Linked DNA regions of Homo sapiens: regions 1, 2, 3, 4, 5 and 7 are each linked to region 6. Evidence: promoter capture Hi-C in 16 types of primary human blood cells and fetal thymus (Javierre and others, 2016). All regions are on one chromosome and are shown on one strand. The core of a region is centred on a gene start or on the middle of the fragment in contact, and the rest is flanking DNA. Distances in the headings are between cores, read along the strand shown. Region 1 holds the start of DDC (dopa decarboxylase). Region 2 holds the start of DDC-AS1 (DDC antisense RNA 1). Region 3 overlaps DDC (dopa decarboxylase). Region 4 overlaps GRB10 (growth factor receptor bound protein 10). Region 5 overlaps FIGNL1 (fidgetin like 1). Region 6 holds the start of SPMIP7 (sperm microtubule inner protein 7). Region 7 overlaps DDC (dopa decarboxylase).

Region 1 (2,700 bases), core at 1-2,500, 470 kb after region 6:
TCCCTGGTTTCAAAAATGTCACATATCCACTTTGCCAGGACTTCCAGGGTAGAGTTCTATAGGGTCATCTTCATCCTACACCGCATCCAGATAAGCACAGGGAGCAAGGCTGAATGCTGGAGGGACTTACCCCAGCCATGGGAGCAGCGCTTGTCGCCCTGGACCTACACACTGGATTGCTTGGCTGCCCGACAGCACCAAGTGCAAACGGGCTACATTCACATTTCGTCTCTGCCAGCTGCAAGATCTTATGCCATCCTCCTCCCCTCCTCTGGCTGTTTGCTCACTTGTGAAATGGGGATGTGACTGGAGGTGAAGAAGGCAAACCTTCTAGACAGAGCCCAATGTAAACTGACCACTCAGAAGTAATGGTTTTAACTCACGCATGATGGAGAGCAATGATTTCCATCGATTAAGCTTTGATTCTTATATACTTCCGACAACAGACTTAAAACCAGGAGAACTTCGACTCCTTGAAGTCGATAACCGAACAATTCTCCCAATAGAAATTCCTATCCGCATATGTTTTCAGATGGGAATTGTACTCAGCATGGCAAGTTGGTGGGAAAGATCTTCTAATTCTCCTCAAATCACACTGCATAGGTAGACACCAAATTGACCTCTAAGTAAACTATAACATACACCAAAAGGAGAGAGCCCTGACGGAGCCTCAGATGTTATAAAGGGAAGGGCAGAGTTCACATTTACTAATCACCTCCATAAAATCATGGGATTTAATCCTCACAAGGTAGATACTAAGAAAATCCTCATTTACAGAAGAAACAGAGGCTGGGGGAATAAAATACCCAACACCATCCCTGGTGGTGCATGGAAAAAATAGAATCACATCTGGCCCGCATTTGCTACTGAGCCAGTCATGAAATCATTCCCAGCACCTATCAAACATGTGTCACTGGAGTGACTGTGTGTGCATGGAGAGCCACCAAGTGCACAGCCCCCACTGAACAAAAACCCCTGCCAGCCTGCAGCAGAAGAGAAAGCACCACACAAGCTCCCTCAAGTGAGTTAACCTTTAAGCAAATGTTCAGTAACATGGGGCCAGAGAGTCAAGGTACATGTTGCTGTTTTCCACTACTACAATCTGAGTAGGTATAAAATCAGAGACTTACATGCTGGAAATTCGAATTCCTTACAGGGCTACTCTCCTTGATGGGATTCTCCAACTTTGGGGACTGAAGAGCATGTGGAGAAGCTGCTGAGGCACTCGGCACTGAGACAGTCACTCTTCTTGAAACTCCAAGCCACACGTTTCCCTCTTCTTGCATTTCCAGCCACATGTGCCAGTTAAACATTAATTCCTGATGGTGACAAAGGTCAAGGAAATCTTGAGAAATAGCTCGCCTCTGGGAATCCTGAGAGCACATTCTGAAGAGACTGTTTCATTCCAAATCCTGGAAGCTTGGATCTTTCTTATGTAATTCTACATACATCCCATCTTTTACTAAGCAGCCCTGATTTCAAGTTTGGAGCCCATTAAGTCATCTGATATGTTCCAGCCCTGCACCAGGTGATGCCTGCATTGCACACAGCCTCCTGCCCCTGAAGGCAGCCCCAAAGTAAGCCTGCACTTCCCGGTGCAGCACTCAGCAATATGGGTAAGATTTCCAGGTTCAGATATCAGCAGAACCCAGGAACTCACCTTCCTTCCCCAAACCCATCAAAATCATAGTTGAGATGCATGAAACAATACTCTGAGTGGAATTTGGACAAATTTATAAAAAAACCCCAAAGTCGATAGAATTTTATGAGAGCACAAAGCAGGGCTGAGAAAGCCACATTGAGAAGTTGAGCAGGCACAGCCTGCAGGGATCTTAGGAGCTGGTCTTTCTGGCAGACCCCCAGCAGCTCCAAGCGTGGGGCTCAGTGGGTGTGAAGAGCAGAGTGAGAGTGAGGCTGGCTGCGGGCAGCTCATTAAAGGACTGGAAACAAGGCAGAGAGGGCTGTCACTAGAGCCATTTGTCACAGGCTAGATGCAGGGAAGAGCTCTCCTTGCTCTATCCTAGGGGACTGGAGCAGGCTGGGGCGGGGCACCTAGGGTTCCTATTGTTAGGACTGGAACTGGAGAGAGAAGCAGAGTGACATTGAGGAGTCTCAAAACCTCCACAGGAGCCATTGGAGGAAAGAGGGAAAAGAGAAAGAATGGCAAGTGAGCCCTCCAATGACGCACACCCAAATGCTCCCGCCTGGGGTCTCACAGGAGCTGAGAACCGAAGAAGTGATTGTCCTTGGTAAGGGGAAGAGTGAGGGAAGGGCTCCAAAGAGGGAACAGCCTCTGCAAAGTTACTGAGGATCAAGCTCGGCATCTCCCAGGCCCTGACAGAAGGCCAACTCCTAAGGACCATTCAAAGTAGGGGAGGGGGAGTCTTGCAAGCCACGTTACGTAATTTGTATCCCCCCAACTGTAATAGAAGGCATTGAAGTGTTTCTAGAAAGCAGTAACCTTAGCTTACTTATGGTTTAAGATCACTCTGGCTCTGGGGTAGAAAATGGATCAGAGGGAGATAAGGGTGAAAGGGTTAGACCCTTTAAGTTGGACCACCAATTCCCACCACATTCCTTGGATTTCTGCACTTTCCTGCAAACCAGGAGTGAATTCAAGTGAATCCATTCTAGGAGATGGGCTGGGGGAGGGAGGGGGGGCTTGAGATGAAGAAGCGTGCTAATATTCCCCATAAGTGC
Region 2 (2,700 bases), core at 161-2,660, 440 kb after region 6:
CCATCTGCAAGCCCAGGAGAGAGGCCCCAGGAGAACCAACCCTGTGGACACTTTGATTTTGGACTTGCAGCCTTCGGGACTGTGAGAAAAGAAATTCTTCTTCGATCCACCCAGTCAGTGGTATTTTGTTAGGGAACCCCTGGCAAACTAATGGATTCAGGGCCTGCTATGTTATCCCATTTAAGTTGTAAAAATAATCCCATTTTTGTGTTTTATCATCTTCAGGTGGGGAAACAGATGTGCAGAGAGGTTCACTAACTTGCCCCAAATCAGCAGCTAGGTAGGGCACGGTTAGGAGTGAGCCCACGCCTGCGCTTTTTAGGGTGCCATGGGCCTAGAAAGGTAGGGGCAGCGAGCACCTTCCCTCTTAAGTAAGTCGTAGAAGAAACCCATCTACCGACCAGTATGAAAGGACATTAGAAAGGGCAAATAAAAGAAGGTAGGTTCTTGTTGACTCTGAAAAAGTTTATAACATGATAGGTTTTTACAGAGAAATATATAATAAAATAATTAAGTAGAAATGCTAACCTCTCTTCTTAACATTTGATGCTCTCTTCATTGACCCTGATTTCTCATTTTGACTTTGCCTTGACACTACTTTTACTTATTCTTTTGAGCCAACCCACATCCTTTGGTGGGACAGTAATATTGAAAGATAAATACATTTATTCATGTTTCTGTAGCACTAATGGATGGGTTCAAATATACAGATATATGCGTCTCTTAATTCAGCATCTAAAATGGGTACTTTATTTCCTTCAGGCTATATTTTCATGAGCAATGATTTTAGACATTGTTTTAGGCCAGGTTTACAAACCTTGGCCAGAGGAGAGAGAAGGGGAGAAACCAATTTTGGCTGGCAAAGCTAAATCAGCCATCCCAGGAAACCCAGGCTCCCTGAGAGCAGGCATTGTACCTTACTTACACTTCTCCTATGTACCCCATCATTCCTGTCCCTGATTTCCTCCTGTCCCCCTATCTGCCCCCACACACATTTTGTTTGTCATGTCCCACCCATTCTCATTGGAAATGTAACATGAAAAGCCTGGTGGAAGGCACAATTCCCTGTTCTGATGCTTGACAAGCAGGCGTGACTGCAGCTTCCCCGGCTAAATTCTACCCTCTGCTTGAAGCGTTGGAACGCAGGTGTTCATTCTCTGAACATTCTAATGAAATGAGTCACCATGAATCACCTGAATCACCATGACAACTCATTATGGCTTTTCTCTGGGGGGGGATGGGGGAGCTTAGTTCATGTCCTAAGAGAAAATTCACCTTCTTAAGTCAACAAAATGATGTTTTAAAAGCCTGAAGGAGCAAATCGTCAGTAGCACATCTAGAACCACACCACCCCGATGCCACCAGGGTGGCCTGGTGGCCTCAAGCATGATGTCAGGTGGAGCTCTCTGCACTTTGCTGGCAGCAGATCTTCGCGGAGAGAAGCACGGGGAGGGTGACATGTGGTACAGAGCAGGAACGATGGCTCTGTGCGATAGCAGCAGACAAAGGTTGCCATGGCAAGCCTGCTCAGGAGGTAGGAGGGGATGCTGGTAAGGTCTGACGCTTCTGGCTGCTGATGCCGTGAGCAGAAATGTCCTTTCATCTTCAGTTTTTTTCGAAGCAAAAAATTGTCTTTTCTTCCACAAGAACTTTAAAACCCAATTAAGAGACCATTTTCCCAGACCACATTTGTCCAGCCTCACAACAACAGTTTGCCATTTGACTCAGACACGCATCACTGCGCTGACGCCCACAGCTGTGATTACAGCTCTGAGGGGATCAATAATGCAGGCTGGCTCACAGGCTGTCACCAGGCTCCTGTGCTCTTTGGGGCCTCACCAATTACAGACAATCAGCCTTGTCTGCTGAGAAGGGTGAGCTTCCGGTGGCAAACACAGATCCCATTTCTTCCTTTCATCCAGAAAAAAACTGAGTGGATTGGGCTCACAGGAAGATTGTGTTAAAGCGGGGGCTGAGAGATGCCAGGAATATTCCTACCCAAATGCTAAAGACTTGTATGGTCTCTCAAAAATGAGGTTGTCTTTAATGAAACGAAAATGCAGCCCATAGTAGCATGCACATCTCTGGACACCAACCCAAGCCTATGGTCAGGGATGAGCTGGTGTAACAGTCATAACTCTGGTTGTCTTTCCTACTAGCCTTGGCTTTAATTCACTTTTGCTGCTATGCATGTTCTACTAACTTTCTGGGACTCAATATCCTCATCCATGAAAAAGATTGTCCATAATCCAATCAATCTTCATAAATACTTTGAGGATGAAGACAATAACACAAAGCACAAGACATAGGCTAAAACATAGCCAAGCTCATAATTGCTATTCAATGAAAAGTAGCTCTTATTATAATAGACACAGCTTATATTATGAGGGATTGATAAGATTTTTTTGAGGAGTATATAATTAGAGGAATCATCTGCTGAAAAAATTGAATATGAAATTGTTTTTGTTATAAGATGCAATGACCTAGAAATGCTTCAATTTTTGTTTTGTTCCATTTGGATTTAGTGGGGAGCATGAATGTTAAACATGAATACAGCCAGGAGAGTCCTAGGAGGAAGGTGATCATCTTGGAAGATTGTTGCACTTCATCCTAAAGGGTGTCCTCCAAAATTTTTTTTATAAGAATGGAAAATTTGATGCAACACAAATATCTTAGGTATTATTTATATATTTATATAGA
Region 3 (2,700 bases), core at 4-2,503, 400 kb after region 6:
GCTGAACTAATGGCTGAATCCCCAAAAGGCCCCCTCATTCAAAGGGTCTAAAGCTGAGGGCAGTGTGTGTGCTGCTGGCCCCAGACACACCAGGGAAAATGGAAGCCACTGCACCACTTGGTTTTCTCTCCTGACCCTGGCGGCTAAGTGTAACTCCAAGGGACCATCGTGTGACAGCCTCATGTTACTCACCTGCATTTCTCTCCAGTGACACCACCCTTTCCACCCACCTGGAATTCCCTTCCTGGTTCCCTTTGCTAATCCATTCTCAAGTCCTCCCCCAAACATCATCCAAGGGGAGGTCTGCACACAGTCCACGCTGACCTCTACCTGCCCCACTCCATCCCCACCACCAGGTGAAGTTCTTTACTTTACACCATCTTAGACCATCCCCTGCTTTCTTCATGAACAGGGTTCTGTTTTCCAACCATGCATAGCAGCCTTGTGGGCAGGGGCTGCCTCATTCAGGAGCTGGGAGAGCCACAGATGTAGCATGCTCCCTCAATTTTGACAGATCTGGGCTCAACTCCTGCTTCCAGTTGCTCCCCAGCCAAGGGGCCCTATCTACTTCTCCAAGCCTCACTCTCCTCCCAGGAAGATGGAGATGAAATAGTACCCATAGGCCCAAGGGATGAGCAAGGGAATATTTACAATGTGCTTGCCAGGACCCCAGCACTGAGTAGGGGAGAAATAAATGTGGCTTCCATGGTTGCTGCCTCTCAGCCCTAGGCACCCAGGAGAGTAAGAGTTGAAGGGTGAAGGACCACAGAGAGGGCGCGAGCCACCCTCACCTCACAGGGTGGATACCAGTGTCAGGGTACCGTGGGGTAGGTGTCAGGGTCAGCATATGCATTTGTAGGGATCCATGGATTCACCGTTCACTCACCATCCATGGTGCTCATTGTGCAATGAGGCGTGAGACTCTCAGGGGCACTAATTAGTCACAGTTCCAATCAGGAGGGCTCCACTGTGCTGACCTCATTACCACTGGAAGGCCCCACCTCCAATACCATCACCTTAGGTTAGAATTTCAGCAAATGGGCTTTGCGGGGGACACAAACGTTCAGACTACAGCAAGCTTCAAATTTACACCTATCTTATGATGTGATCTGAGGTTTTTCTCAACCTTACCGCTGATCTGAGCTACAGGCATGGACATCCCATGATTACTGAGTGACTCCTCAGGGAGAAACTCTGCAAATCCTAAGGCCTTGTGCTCTTCCTGGCTCACTGCTGCATCCATCTGGGGTTATGCAAGCACCAGGTGAGACTGATTCTGGGGGAAGTGATGAGCCCCTAAGCCTCGGTTCAGGTCCACACTGCTCTGTGACCTTTGGCCTCCCATGCCCTGGGGTGGATATCCGTGTCCGCAGGACACACTTGACCTTAATCCAACTGAGGGCTTTCATCCTGATGATTAAACTGAGTCAAAGCTTTGAAACGCCTTATGTCTTTTATCAGCTTTGTGGAGGACTGTGTTCTCTCTAAGCTTGCAGTTGGCCTACAACTCCTGCAGAAGGGAACTTACAGACCCCTAAAGGAAGTGGACTCTGAAGGGCTTCTCTGGTTTCCATGGGGATGCATGGAGCTGTGGGCATGCCTCTGCATTCTGCATTCTGCATCTCATATGTGATCCACTAACAGCACACACTGCATAGCACGGCCCATCTAGGAACCAGGCAGACACAGAGACCCTCGGCCAGAGCTTGAGAAGTTGCATGCACCAGGGGCACACCTAGCCCTGAGGCAAGGCTGCCTCAGTGGGGAGGGATGGGACAGGCTCACACCCCTCCAGCTTCCTGCTGTCAGTGACTCTTTCCTTCTGAGACTTCCCAGGAACTTGCGGCAGGCCTGGCTGCCCCTCCAGCTGCACGTCCTCTCTCAGTTATGCTGGCACCTCAGGATGCAGCTTTGGCTGCCTGCCCTGTGCTATTCCCTTCCTCACACCTTGAGATGGCCTCCCCAACTCAGCCCATACCCTCGTCCTCAGTTTCCCCACTTCCCCATCGGCAACCTAACTGACTTCAACTATCCACTTTTTGTATTCCATCTTCTCAGTAAAACCTGCCAGACAACTGATCCATCCAAGCAGACCAATCTGAATACCCTCACTGGCAAATCATTTCAAATGCAATAAAAAGAAAATGTCTTTCCTAAGGCAGCAATTGGAAGAAAACCATCTTCTGATTTGTTTTCTTTGTCAAATGATGGTGGGTGAATAACTTATCTGAATTATGTTAGATTATTCTAATCATATATAGAATAAGGTCAGCTCAGGATCTCAGAACAGTCCCGCTTGGAGTTGGAGAATGCTAAATATCTGGTGATAGGAAAATGGTAGCAGGAGAGGGAAAGTAGGTAAAAGGGTGCTGACTTAATTGTTAAGGTACCACCAACAGTTAGTAATATAACACCATCAATAAAAATGGAAATGTTGGCCGGACACAGTGGGTTACGCCTGTAATTCCATCACACTGGGAGGCTGAGGCGGGCATATCATCTGAGGTCAGGAGTCTGAGACCAGCCTGGCCAATATGGTGAAACCCCATCTCTAATAAAAATACAAAAATTAGCCAGGCATGATGGCATGTGCCTGTGATCCCAGCTACTCAGAAAGCTGAGGCAGGAGAATCACTTGAACCCAGGAGGCAGATGTTGCAGTGAGCTGAGATTGTGCCACTCCAGCCTGGGCCACAGAGC
Region 4 (2,700 bases), core at 73-2,572, 500 kb after region 6:
TCTTACATTTTTAGTAGAGATGGGGTTTCATGGTATTAGCCAGGCTGGTCTCAAATTCCTGACCTCAGGTGACCCGCCCACCTCGGCCTCCCAAAGTGCTGGGATTACAGGCATGAGCTACTGCACCCAGCCAGAATAACTCTTCTCTTACAGGACCATTGAGAAGACCATGGCTGATGTATATACAGCTTTGTGCATGATCACACGCAATACAAGGTAGCTTGAAATAACAATCACTGCAATCAGCCAACTGCCACAATCCAGTGATTTCTAAGGGGATTGCAGTTATAGGAAAGATGCCCAGGGAGAAGCTAAGCATGTTAAGTGACTACTAACCAGGCTCAGAAGTTGTAAACACGGCCCAGGATGGACAGTGGCAAGAACCAGGTAAGTTCTTAAGAATCGATGCTAGGGATGGTGCACTCACCAGTCCATCATAAATGAACGAAGAGCCCCTTGTGACAGGACCCGACAGTGATCAGAGTACAATCTAGACCACGTTTACAAGCAAGACACCGTGCAAAGTGTTTCATGCATGTATTAACTCATTCATCTTCATGGTGATACTGTTATCTTCATTTCACAATGATAAGGGAAGTGACACACAGAGAAGCTAAGCAACTTCCCCAAGGTCACACAGCCAGTCATGGAGGAGTTCCTGGTTCAGCAGGAAAAGCAGACGAAAAGTGAAAGTATCCCTCTTACAAGGGTGCTATGTGAGTCCTGGGGATAACACCTCTCTTTCTGCGGTTGGGAGAAGGGAAAGCTTCAAAGAATTCAAATTTTGCCGAAGAGGTTTCCTTCCAACATGTGGAGGGGCATGAAGTGCAGACAGAGGGACTGCACAGGCAGATGACACAGGGATCGATGCCTGGCACAGCAGGAAGGCCAGTGGGGCTGGACCATGAGTGTGGGCATGGCAGGGGGGGCATCCACATGCCCTGGGGGGATAAGCATGGTGTTGGGGGTGGGGTGGGATTGTTTGGCAGAGAGGACTACAGACCTAGATTTCCCCTTAAAAAGATCCTTCTCCTGCAGTTCTGGGACGGGCATGGGTGGCAAGACAGGAAGGAAGCAGGCGGCAAATTCAGTGCAGGGCTGGTAAAGCACGAGTATGTGCGCGCACACGCTCAGCTGCATGGGTGGGGACGGGGATGGGAGGGGAGCTGCCTGGATCCTGGGATTTCAGGAATACTTGACGGGCTTATTTAAGGCTCTGATGTCTCTTTCTAACTGCATACACCGTTTGAGAATAAAGCTATGGAAAATGCTGTTGTTATACTGTCTGTCCAGAATCTTGTGCTGTTTTTCGAGGTGGTTTTCTTTTCTTTGTTGTTTAACTCTTTAAACTGGCTTGCCTTCATCATCTCTGCAGGGATCAGTAAAGATTAGAAATGGATTATTTACCTTGTTATACAAATACACCTCCTCCCTACACCCAAGAATTGAGAGGAAGATGAGCTGTTCCTGTGTTAACGCCTGAATCAATCCCATTATCTGCATTTCTGTGTGTGGTTAGCGCTCCAGCAGCCTAAGGCGGGAGCTGGAAATGACAGCCTTGGAGACGAGGAAGGCTCCAGGGAGGACGGAGAGGAACACCTGCTGAAGAATAAGACGGGCGGCACCAGCCGGGCTGATTTGGGGAACGGAAGGTAACAGAGGTGATGCTTCTATCGCTTTACAGGTCTGGAAAGACGGATGCCTCACCAACTGGGTTTCTGATCCGAGAAAAATTGAAAGACAAACATGGCTGGGGGAAGCAAAACGCTGACACACAATTCAGGTGGCCCAGCAGTGCTGACCTGCAATCCACCCCACCCCAAGGCAGCCCTTTCAATCCAAAGTGGACAGAGTGGGCCTTATCCCAGAATCACTCAGGAAGCTTCTTCAAACATATGACTGCCACACCCGCCCCCAAGGTTCAGAAACATCTTCGCCTCGGGATGATGGGCGTCCTCACTGCCCTGGCCTTGGGGAGGACACTTAGTGGCCACAGCACCAAATAAAGCCTCCTGTGGAAGTGCCAATTCTCCAGCAGAGTGACGCTACCCCGAAGTGAGCCTGCGCTGCCTCCCACACACGGCAAGGGTAACAGAGGTCCCCCTAGAACATTCTGGGCCCACTGTTGATACGGTTCAGGGGTATAAGCAGGTATACACTGTATTAGAAGCCCCAGAACACACAGATACCCCTAACTCAAAAACGTCACAGAAAGAGAAATTTCTGTGTTAGGCTTTTCTCTCCTCAGGCATGCCAGAAACTTTAGAGGAGAAACATACTGTTTTACAGTTAGAGGAGGAGTTGCTTCTAATGCTTTGAGAGACTGCTCTGTGATAAAGCTGACATCTTGAGTAAGGAGTTTTGGAGCAATTGTAAAGCCACATGGGAAACAAAATAAAATCAGACCCATACTCTACCCAGCAGTGAGGATAAATAAACCCAAGTGCATCTGGGATCGAAACAAAACCAAACAAAGACCAAAAATGAACCAACTAAGGACAAAAGAAAGAAAGGGAGAATGCAGAGAGCAGGAAGGAAGGAAAGAGGAGCAGAGGGAAGGAAGGAGAGAGGGGGGAAAAGAATCCAAGTACAAGACAACATGAATGCACCCCTTTATGATTTAGGAGTGGGAAAAACAAAAGTGTCTGCAACTTAACTGATTAGAAAAATGGACAAAAAATGTAAACAGGGTAGAACTGC
Region 5 (2,719 bases), core at 220-2,719, 350 kb after region 6:
CTGGGAGGGGAATATAAAGCCTTTTCACCAATCTTCTCCGGGCAGCCTCATCAATTTCTTGTGGCCGATTTGTTGCTCCCACCACTAGGATACGATCTTCAGAAGATGTTGTTGCTCCATCTAATTGAACTAAAAATTCTGTTTTTATCCTTCTAGAAGATTCATGCTCACCATCTCCCCGTTGAGATAACAAGGAATCAATTTCGTCAATAAATATCACAGCTGGTTGCTGACACCTTGCAACAGCAAACAATGCACGGACCATTTTCTCCCCCTCACCTACCCATTTAGAAGTTAAGGATGAAGCAGAGATGCTAAAGAATGTTGCCCCAGACTGACTAGCAATGCACTTGCCAATTAGAGTTTTACCAGTCCCAGGAGGACCAAAGAGCAAAATTCCTTTAGGGGGTCCCCTTAAACCAGTAAAGATGTCTGGCCTCAACATGGGCCACACAACTATTTCCTTTATGGTGGCTTTAGCAAATTCTACTCCTGCAATATCTTCCCAATTTACTGGAGGTCCATGATCCATAATCTCATTCATAATAAGTTCAATCATCTTTGGCTCCAAGTTCTTCAGACGCTCATCAACTGGATGTGCTGGTTCTGTAGGTCCTGCCCCATAAGGCTTACATTGCATTCCTCCATTCTGCTCTCCCCCATCTTGCTTGGGTATAGGAGGAACAAACTTTCCAAGTATCCCTCGGGATCTACTAGCTCCTAGAGACTTTTTTACACCACCATATGAAGACCCTGATGCACGCTGAGGTTGGTGGTACTTTTTTTGCTGATCTACCCATAATTGTTCTTTTGCAGTTTTAAATGTAGGCAGGCTGCTATCCTCCTTTGGGCCATTATCTTCTGTTTTACTACAAGCCTTATTCAGTATTGGATTGGAAAGTGCATCAATGGTGCCAGAACCATAAAAAGACTTCCTCTGTGGATTTTCACAGGCAGCAGGAAAACAAGACTGGTTAGATAAGAACACATTAAGTCCTATGTTTTCTTTTGCAGAGCTGTGATTTTCCTTTTTGACATTTCCAAACAATGGTGTGACATGGAATTTTGCAGTAGCTGACTCACCTACAGGTGCTGAGAATGTAGGACAAGTCCTAGCAGTGTTAGTCACCATAGGTGGCTGGGCATTCTGAAGGAGTTTCAAACGATTGCTCTCCGGGAAGTCTTGGGTCCGGTCTCGATCATGAGCTGAGTTAGGTAATGAGTCACTCTCTTGAGAACTACCACAAACACTAAATTTAGGAAGATCAAAGACAGTGGCCTCCTTATGGATTACCACTGATGCAAGAGCAGGTTCCAACAGAGAGTCTTTGAATTTTTTGCCAGCTTGCATCATCTTCTGTACACTACTCATTTTGAAAACATTATTTATTGACAATCCAGACTGCCACTTGTCACTATCTGTTTGTTGAGATCCTGCCAAAGTTAAAATGTTTTCTGCATAATTATTCAACCCAGATTCAACATTGTCAGAATCAATAATTGCAGAATATTTCTCTGCATATTTTTTGAACAGTTTGGTAGCACAGACCTGGGAAATCTCAGAGTTTGCCCATGCATACTGAATGCGTAATATCTGTGCACGGTATGCATCTGCCTTCGGTCCGGTACATATGCCAGATGTAATTGCGAAGTAATTCTTCTGCCATTCACTCAGGTGCACAGATCTAGAGCTGGAGGTCTGCATTTTAGAGGTTCTATAACAAACAATAAAAATGAAAATCAGTATGAAGGAAAACAAAGAAAATACTTTAAATGTAATTTTGAAACTTCTGCTAATCTGAAGGAAGGGACACTGGACTTTTTATTTATAATGTAGATTTATAAGGACAGGTTATAAGAGAAATATCTAGTTAACTATAGATTTCAAGTATTCAAGACATATCAATATGAAGTCTTCAAAATTAAGGACTTGATTAAATAATAATTTATATGAGTTAAATTGTTCTAGTTACATAATTTTATCTGTAGGGAAAGCATTCATAAGGTTTAAAATTAATTTTAAATTTTAAAAACAATGGAACTATAGATACATAAAGCAAAACAAAATAAACAAGAGGTTTAAGTCTGATCTATAAAACTAGGTGAATGAGCTTAAGTGAGCTTTTTACTATCACTGATGGTTTATTTTTATTTTATTATTATTTTTTTTTGAGACAGTGTCTCGCTCTGTCACCCAGGCTGCTGGAGGGCAGTGGCGCTCTCAGCTCACTGCAACCTCCACCTCGCGGGTTCAAGTGCTTCTCCTGCCCCAGCTTCCCAAGTAGCTGGGATTACAGGCACCTGCCACCACCCCTGGATAATTTTTATATTTTTAGTAGAGATGGGGTTTCGCCATGTTAGTCAGGCTGGTCTTGAACTCCTGACCTCAGGTAATCCACCCGCCTCAGCCTCCCAAAGTGCTGGGATTACAGGCGTGAGCTACCGCGCCCAGCTGGTTCTTCAGTTTTCTTATCTGCAAAGTGAGAGGAACCATTGGAAGAATCAAATCAAGCAATGACTATGAAAATAATCTGAAAACTATCATTATCCTTATCACACAAATGTACAAACCGAGGCTGAGAGACTTAAAGAACTTACTTGAGATCACACAGCCAGTTATGAATGGTATCAGAAATCGAACACAAGCAGTTTCACTCCAGGTACTGTGCACTTCTGCATGTACACAATGCTCCTTGATGCTGCTATCCTAGGTCACAGA
Region 6 (2,700 bases), core at 180-2,679:
GAGACTCATGCCTCTACTTTTCTGCTGCTGGAAGGATTTACTTAATGGGAGCAGAGCTGTGATAGAAATAAATCTTAAGCAGTTGGTTTAAATACATTGAAGAATGAAGTTTGAGCAACTAAATGTAGAATGCCTAATTACAAGTGAGTTATCACTTTTGATATGAAGAAATGAGTGATCATGGGTGGACTAAAAACTGTCACTTGATATGCTATGATCTGGATGAAGGATTTAAAACTGACAGCCTAACCACCTAATTTAATCTCACTTGTTTAATAGTATATCTCAAAATTGTAAAGACTTTCAATGGGGCATAGGCATTCTGATTGTACCAAACATATCACCCTTGACAGTTGGCCTGATTAACGATTATGTGCCTGACTCTTCAAAGCTAGAATCTTGCCTGTTTTAACATTTTTGCTGCAGTAAGGATGATGTGAACTTTTACCCCAAATTCTAATATTTGCATTTCCTCTTATAGTAGTTCATGCAAGATGAAATTATCCAGGTGAAAGAGCTTTTAAGTGAACCAATACATTAGTGATTTAAATGATATTTTGTGTGTAGACAGTTAACTGATACCCATTGTGGTTTCCTAAAATGAACTTAAAACTCTTACTGTTCTTACTCTGGACACCATGGCAAATTTAAGGGAAGTAAAGATAATTTAGGGCATGTAAAGATGTACCTGTACTTTCATTATAATTTTCTGTTTTTCTTAAAAATTAGATATACTAGGGCTGGGCACAGTGGCTCACACCTGTAATCCCAGCACTTTGGGAGGCCGAGGCGGGCAGATCACAAGGTCAGGAGATCGAGACCATCCTGGCTAACACAGTGAAACCCCATCTCTACTAAAAATACAAAAAATTAGCCGGGCATGGTGGCGGGCGCCTGCAGTCCCAGCTGCTTGGGAGGCTGAGGCAGGAGAATGGCGTGAACCTGGGAGGCGGAGCTTGCAGTGAGCCAAGATCACACCACTGCACTCCAGCCTAGGCGACAGAGTGAGACTCCACCAAAAAAAAAAAATTAGATGTACCAATTTAACTTTAGTAATGTTTATATTTTGTAGTGCATTTAGATTTACATTTAATTAGATAGCAAGTGTTATATATATAAATACTTAATTGTAGTCACATATATACTTTTGAGAAATGTATTGTCACTGAATTAACTGCTTTATTTACACTCCTTAAATATATTTTATACCCATAAAATACCAACTTATGGAAAAATTTTAAAATAAGTAAATGAACACAGCTTTCCTGAGCACTGGGGAGAAAAGTATCATGGAAATATTAGTACCAAGGCTATTTTTGTTTTTCTTAAGAATTGTGATGTACATAATAAATGGTTCAATGTGTTAAGAATTCTAGCCGTTGCCAGGCAACAAGGGCTCTGCTTTATTCTCCTTATGTCATGTTCCTTCATTGCCCTATTCTTCCTTTGGTGGAGGAAAATATTTGCCTTAAAAAGAAAAACAAAATTATCTGCCAACATTTAGAAAGCTGTGTCAATTTTATACTAGTTTAACACAGATCTTTAGTTATTGGCAATAGAGTTTATATAGTTAAATATAAAGGAATTATCAGAAATACTTTATAGTTATCAAAAATTCTAAAGAAAAAGGCCATGGATGTAGAAATTCAGGACACACCTGGAAAGATAAGTATCTCTAAAAGGTCCATCCTTTCAGGAACTGTTGAGAATATAGATTACCCACACTATTGTGATCTCTTAAGAAAAATGAACATGCCTTTTGTGAAAGGTCTTGAGAACAGACATAACTATGGCAGGTTTGAAAAGAAATGCAACCCTGCTTTTCTTAAATTTCACCCTTATCCCCCTTCAGTTTTGCCAGACTATCATTTACATGATCCTTATCCCCCACCATATGGGCCACATTATCCATTATTTCCACTTCGGGATGATGTGACCTTAGGTGATTCCTGTTCAGGGTTTATGAGTCCTGGTGGTGATGCTGATTTAAATCCTGGCATTGGCAGAACCATACCAACCCTAGTGGATTTTAGTGATGTGAAACCTCAACATCGAGTTCCCAGACCAGACACAGGATTTCAAACAACAATAAAAAGGCAAAAAATTCTATCAGAAGAACTGCAACAGAACAGGAGATGGAATTCCAGGGAAGTACCAGACATTTCTATCAGAGCAAGACTTGGAGGTAAATGAAGTGACATGAACTTTCTATTTTTTAAATGCTCAAGGGAAGAGAGTATGGACATAAGATTCAATATTTAGGCAGTTAAATTAACAAAATTACAATGATCTGAAAAAGGTTTTATTTTTAAATTACAGATTATAAGAAACAAAGGAATGATAAACCTTATAAACTTATTTGTAAAAGAAAATTTATTCTTTAAGAAAAGAACATTCATTAGTGATTAACACAAAGTATATAACATTATTTATTCTAGATATATGGATAAGCTTGTTTTACCACAGGGGAATTTATGTATCACTTTGATAATTGTATAGAAATCCTCCTTATCTGTCTCTCTCCTTTGAAAGAATGAATTCACTGATATTATGAAAGAGTTAGTTTTAAGGATTGAAATAAAATGGGAAAAATTTAAGTACTTGAACGTACATTTTTTGGCTCCAATAAGAACAGAAGCTGAAATGAAGCAAACTCTGCATAAATAGCTCCACAGCCATGGAGGCAGGTTTGATGACCTC
Region 7 (2,700 bases), core at 151-2,650, 390 kb after region 6:
TGAAGTGGGGGCCGGCTGATGGGACTGAGCCCTTAACCCTGTGGAGTCTGACGCTACCTCTAGGTAGTTACAGTCAGAATAGGAGTGAGTTTAGGACACCCAGCTGGTGTCTGCAGAGTTGGAGAATTGGTGTCAAGAGGGAAAACCACAGAGGTTAGCATTTGCTCCTCTCTCTCTTTCCAGGGACAGCACAGTGACTGGCCCTGCTGGCATCAGTAAGTGTGTGTGGGGTGAAAATCCCAAGGGCTAATGAGTGAGAAGGCCAGGATGCCCTGGGCTGCAGACAGGGGTCCTCTTTCACCTGTCTGCACACAGAGCACTCACACTGGTAGTCATTCTGCAGAACTCGGACGCAAACTCTCACTGGGCTGGCCTTTGAAGGGCCTGTGCTTTACGGTAATTGCCATTGCTCTGCTTCATTGGCAGTGTGGTGACACCATCACAAAGCAATTTTGTAGCAAATAAAGTATCCTAAGGGCAAACTAGAGAAGAAATGTTAATCTGACAGTAGCTTAGGCTTGAAAACAAATAAAACGTGAGAGTCCCTGAAAGACAGAACCCAGTGAGCACAAAATAGGATGCTGAGATGTGGCTTACCAAGGAGGTGAGAGAGAGGCTGGATTTATCTATAAATGGTCATTGAGCCTTTATTTTTGTTTTAAGGTTAAAGACAGACAAAGTCAGTAGGAATAATAAGCTGTCTAGTGTATATTCTTTCTTTGACTTGTGGAAGAAAATTGCACCTAATTTTTTGTGTGTATAGGAATTTTCTTGCATCATAGGCATTTTATGGGGAGCCACTGGTTGTGGGGGGAGGTCCTTTGGGTCTCTCTGCATTAGAGAAAGCTCTGTGCCTAGACTTAAAAAGAGGGGACCAAGAGGGATGTGAATATTTATGGCTATCAGTAGAACTCTGCCCTTTGTCCACAAAGATCACACTTTCCCTTCTCATTCTCAGCAGGGGCCTTCCAGCTGTTTTTTAATTTAAAAAATTTTGCACTAATTAAAGCCATACAAAAGATGTAAAGAATAAATCACCACCCCCTGCTTATGAAATAAAACTTAAATTATAAGTATTAATAAAAGTTAAATATTCCTGTCCCTCACCTACTTCCTCTCCCTGTCCCACACAAGAGGCCACAAGGCTGAATTTGTGTTCCTACTCTTACATAGTTCTACAAAATTTTCTCTCCAAATCCCTAAGCAATCTATATTATTTTGCACACTGCTAAACATACTGTACCATAAACTTAAGATGTATTATCTTAAATTTTATAATTCCATGCATGTTTCTATAATTTGCTTTCTTACCCCAAAATAGACCTATGAGTTTCACATTCATTCATGCGCAGGGCTCTTGCTCACTCATTTGTATGACCTCCTGGGATTTTAGTGCATGCACATATCCCAATCCATTCATTCTATCATTTCCCATTTATTGATAGACAAACTACACTGATGTGGACATGGGACCATCCCTGTGCATACTCCTGGAGCCCCTAGTGGCAGCGCCCGTCGGCCATGCATCTGCCAATGGAATAGCACAAGGTGAGCTATGTTAAGGTTGGAGGAAAGCATCTATCTACGGCCGTATTCAATAGCTCCAAATCAGTCTCCACAACAGTTCTGCAGTCTGCGAGCTCCTCTTCCATATCCTGGTCAACGTTTAGTATGAAGAGACTATTGTAAACAACCTATAGTGTTTTACTGGGATTTCAATTTACATTTCTGATTACTAAGGAGGGTGAGTAACTTTGTATTTATTAAGCATATCTGTTTCCTCCTTGATAAAGAATTTTTTGTTCATTTTTCTGTTAGATTGCTTATCTTGTCATATTGGATTGCAACAATTCTGTAAACATTAGAAGCCCTAATTGGAATATGTGGAGTCTGTTTCTGGCTCTCTCTTCTAATGTGCTCTACCCATCTGTGCCCGCGCTGGTGCTACATGAGTTCAGTCGTGGTTACTTTACACACACACGTTGATATTTAAGGAGGCAACTTCCTCACTATATTTTTTTTCACAATTATCTTGGCTATTCTTGGCCCATATAAATATTATGCCAGGATATTTATTAGAATTGTGCTGAGGTCTAATATCGAGTCTTCTTTATGAACATATCATCCTACTTAGGACTTCTTTAATGACTTCCAAAAAATTATAGAATTTTCTCCATATAAATCTGAACAGGTTTGGATATGTTTGTTCATAGTAAACATATCTTTTCTTGCTATTATAAAGAGTGTTACCTTTGTAAAAATTACACATACTGTTTAATGTAGATGTAAAAAAATGCAACCTTAAAAATGTTAGTGTATCTAGACATCTTGCTGGGTTCTTTTATTAATAATACTTTGAGGATTCTCTTTTTATTGAGGTTACATCATCTGACAATGAGAGTTTTATGTCTTCCATACTGATCCTTACATGTTTACTTCTTTATCTTTTTTTTTTTAAATTATTATGGAGGTTAGGAAAGTCCAGTGTTGAATAGAAGTGCAGATTATGGGAATCCTCATTTTTTTCTGATTTTAAAGGGAGTGCTTCTAATATTTCACCATTAAGTAAAGGTTCACTATGTTTTTTGGTAGTTACCTTTTATCAGATTAAGAAGTTCTCTGCTGTTCCGATTTTACTAAGACATTTTGTCCTGAAATGTTGTTGACTTTTATCTAATGCTTTTTCTGCATCTAATATGA

The links. Contacts are between HindIII fragments. The CHiCAGO score rates a contact against its expected background, and 5 or more counts as called.
Region 1: a contact is called between the fragment with the promoter of DDC here and the fragment with the promoter of SPMIP7 in region 6, in 9 of 17 cell types (megakaryocytes, activated CD4 T cells, total CD8 T cells and 6 more). The highest score is 8.8, in megakaryocytes.
Region 2: a contact is called between the fragment with the promoter of DDC-AS1 here and the fragment with the promoter of SPMIP7 in region 6, in 17 of 17 cell types (total CD4 T cells, fetal thymus, activated CD4 T cells and 14 more). The highest score is 23.9, in total CD4 T cells.
Region 3: a fragment that was not itself captured here is called in contact with the fragment with the promoter of SPMIP7 in region 6 in 2 of 17 cell types (activated CD4 T cells and total CD8 T cells); the score reaches 5.9 in activated CD4 T cells.
Region 4: a contact is called between a fragment that was not itself captured here and the fragment with the promoter of SPMIP7 in region 6, in 2 of 17 cell types (non-activated CD4 T cells and naive CD4 T cells). The highest score is 5.3, in non-activated CD4 T cells.
Region 5: a contact is called between a fragment that was not itself captured here and the fragment with the promoter of SPMIP7 in region 6, in 11 of 17 cell types (activated CD4 T cells, non-activated CD4 T cells, total CD8 T cells and 8 more). The highest score is 13.3, in activated CD4 T cells.
Region 7: a contact is called between a fragment that was not itself captured here and the fragment with the promoter of SPMIP7 in region 6, in 9 of 17 cell types (activated CD4 T cells, total CD4 T cells, naive CD8 T cells and 6 more). The highest score is 9.4, in activated CD4 T cells.

The regions. Positions count from the first base shown.
Region 1 is chr7:50,564,155-50,566,854 of GRCh38, forward strand. DDC (dopa decarboxylase) reads right to left here and starts at 1,251. Exons shown (of 15, transcript NM_001082971.2): 1 at 1,131-1,251. The HindIII fragment of the contact is 1,002 bases long and covers 416-1,417 here.
Region 2 is chr7:50,530,349-50,533,048 of GRCh38, forward strand. DDC-AS1 (DDC antisense RNA 1) reads left to right here and starts at 1,411. Exons shown (of 5, transcript NR_033845.1): 1 at 1,411-1,534. The region is part of intron 4 of DDC (dopa decarboxylase); the gene reads right to left. RefSeq lists enhancers at 314-483, 332-501, 861-2,060. The HindIII fragment of the contact is 9,169 bases long and covers 1-2,700 here.
Region 3 is chr7:50,499,356-50,502,055 of GRCh38, forward strand. All of the region lies in intron 7 of DDC (dopa decarboxylase), which reads right to left. Among named protein-coding and RNA genes, the nearest start is that of DDC-AS1, 31 kb to the right of the region's middle. RefSeq lists an enhancer at 2,526-2,700. The HindIII fragment of the contact is 355 bases long and covers 1,077-1,431 here.
Region 4 is chr7:50,598,032-50,600,731 of GRCh38, forward strand. All of the region lies in intron 17 of GRB10 (growth factor receptor bound protein 10), which reads right to left. Among named protein-coding and RNA genes, the nearest start is that of DDC, 34 kb to the left of the region's middle. The HindIII fragment of the contact is 1,116 bases long and covers 765-1,880 here.
Region 5 is chr7:50,445,583-50,448,301 of GRCh38, forward strand. FIGNL1 (fidgetin like 1) reads right to left here. Exons shown (of 4, transcript NM_001287492.4): 3 at 2,599-2,707; 4 at 1-1,715. The coding sequence starts at 1,705. Among named protein-coding and RNA genes, the nearest start is that of FIGNL1, 3.4 kb to the right of the region's middle. RefSeq lists an enhancer at 769-1,968. The HindIII fragment of the contact is 2,949 bases long and covers 1-2,719 here.
Region 6 is chr7:50,094,454-50,097,153 of GRCh38, forward strand. SPMIP7 (sperm microtubule inner protein 7) reads left to right here and starts at 1,430. Exons shown (of 9, transcript NM_001161834.3): 1 at 1,430-2,185. The coding sequence starts at 1,633. The HindIII fragment of the contact is 3,144 bases long and covers 1-2,449 here.
Region 7 is chr7:50,480,559-50,483,258 of GRCh38, forward strand. All of the region lies in intron 9 of DDC (dopa decarboxylase), which reads right to left. Among named protein-coding and RNA genes, the nearest start is that of FIGNL1, 32 kb to the left of the region's middle. The HindIII fragment of the contact is 6,680 bases long and covers 1-2,700 here.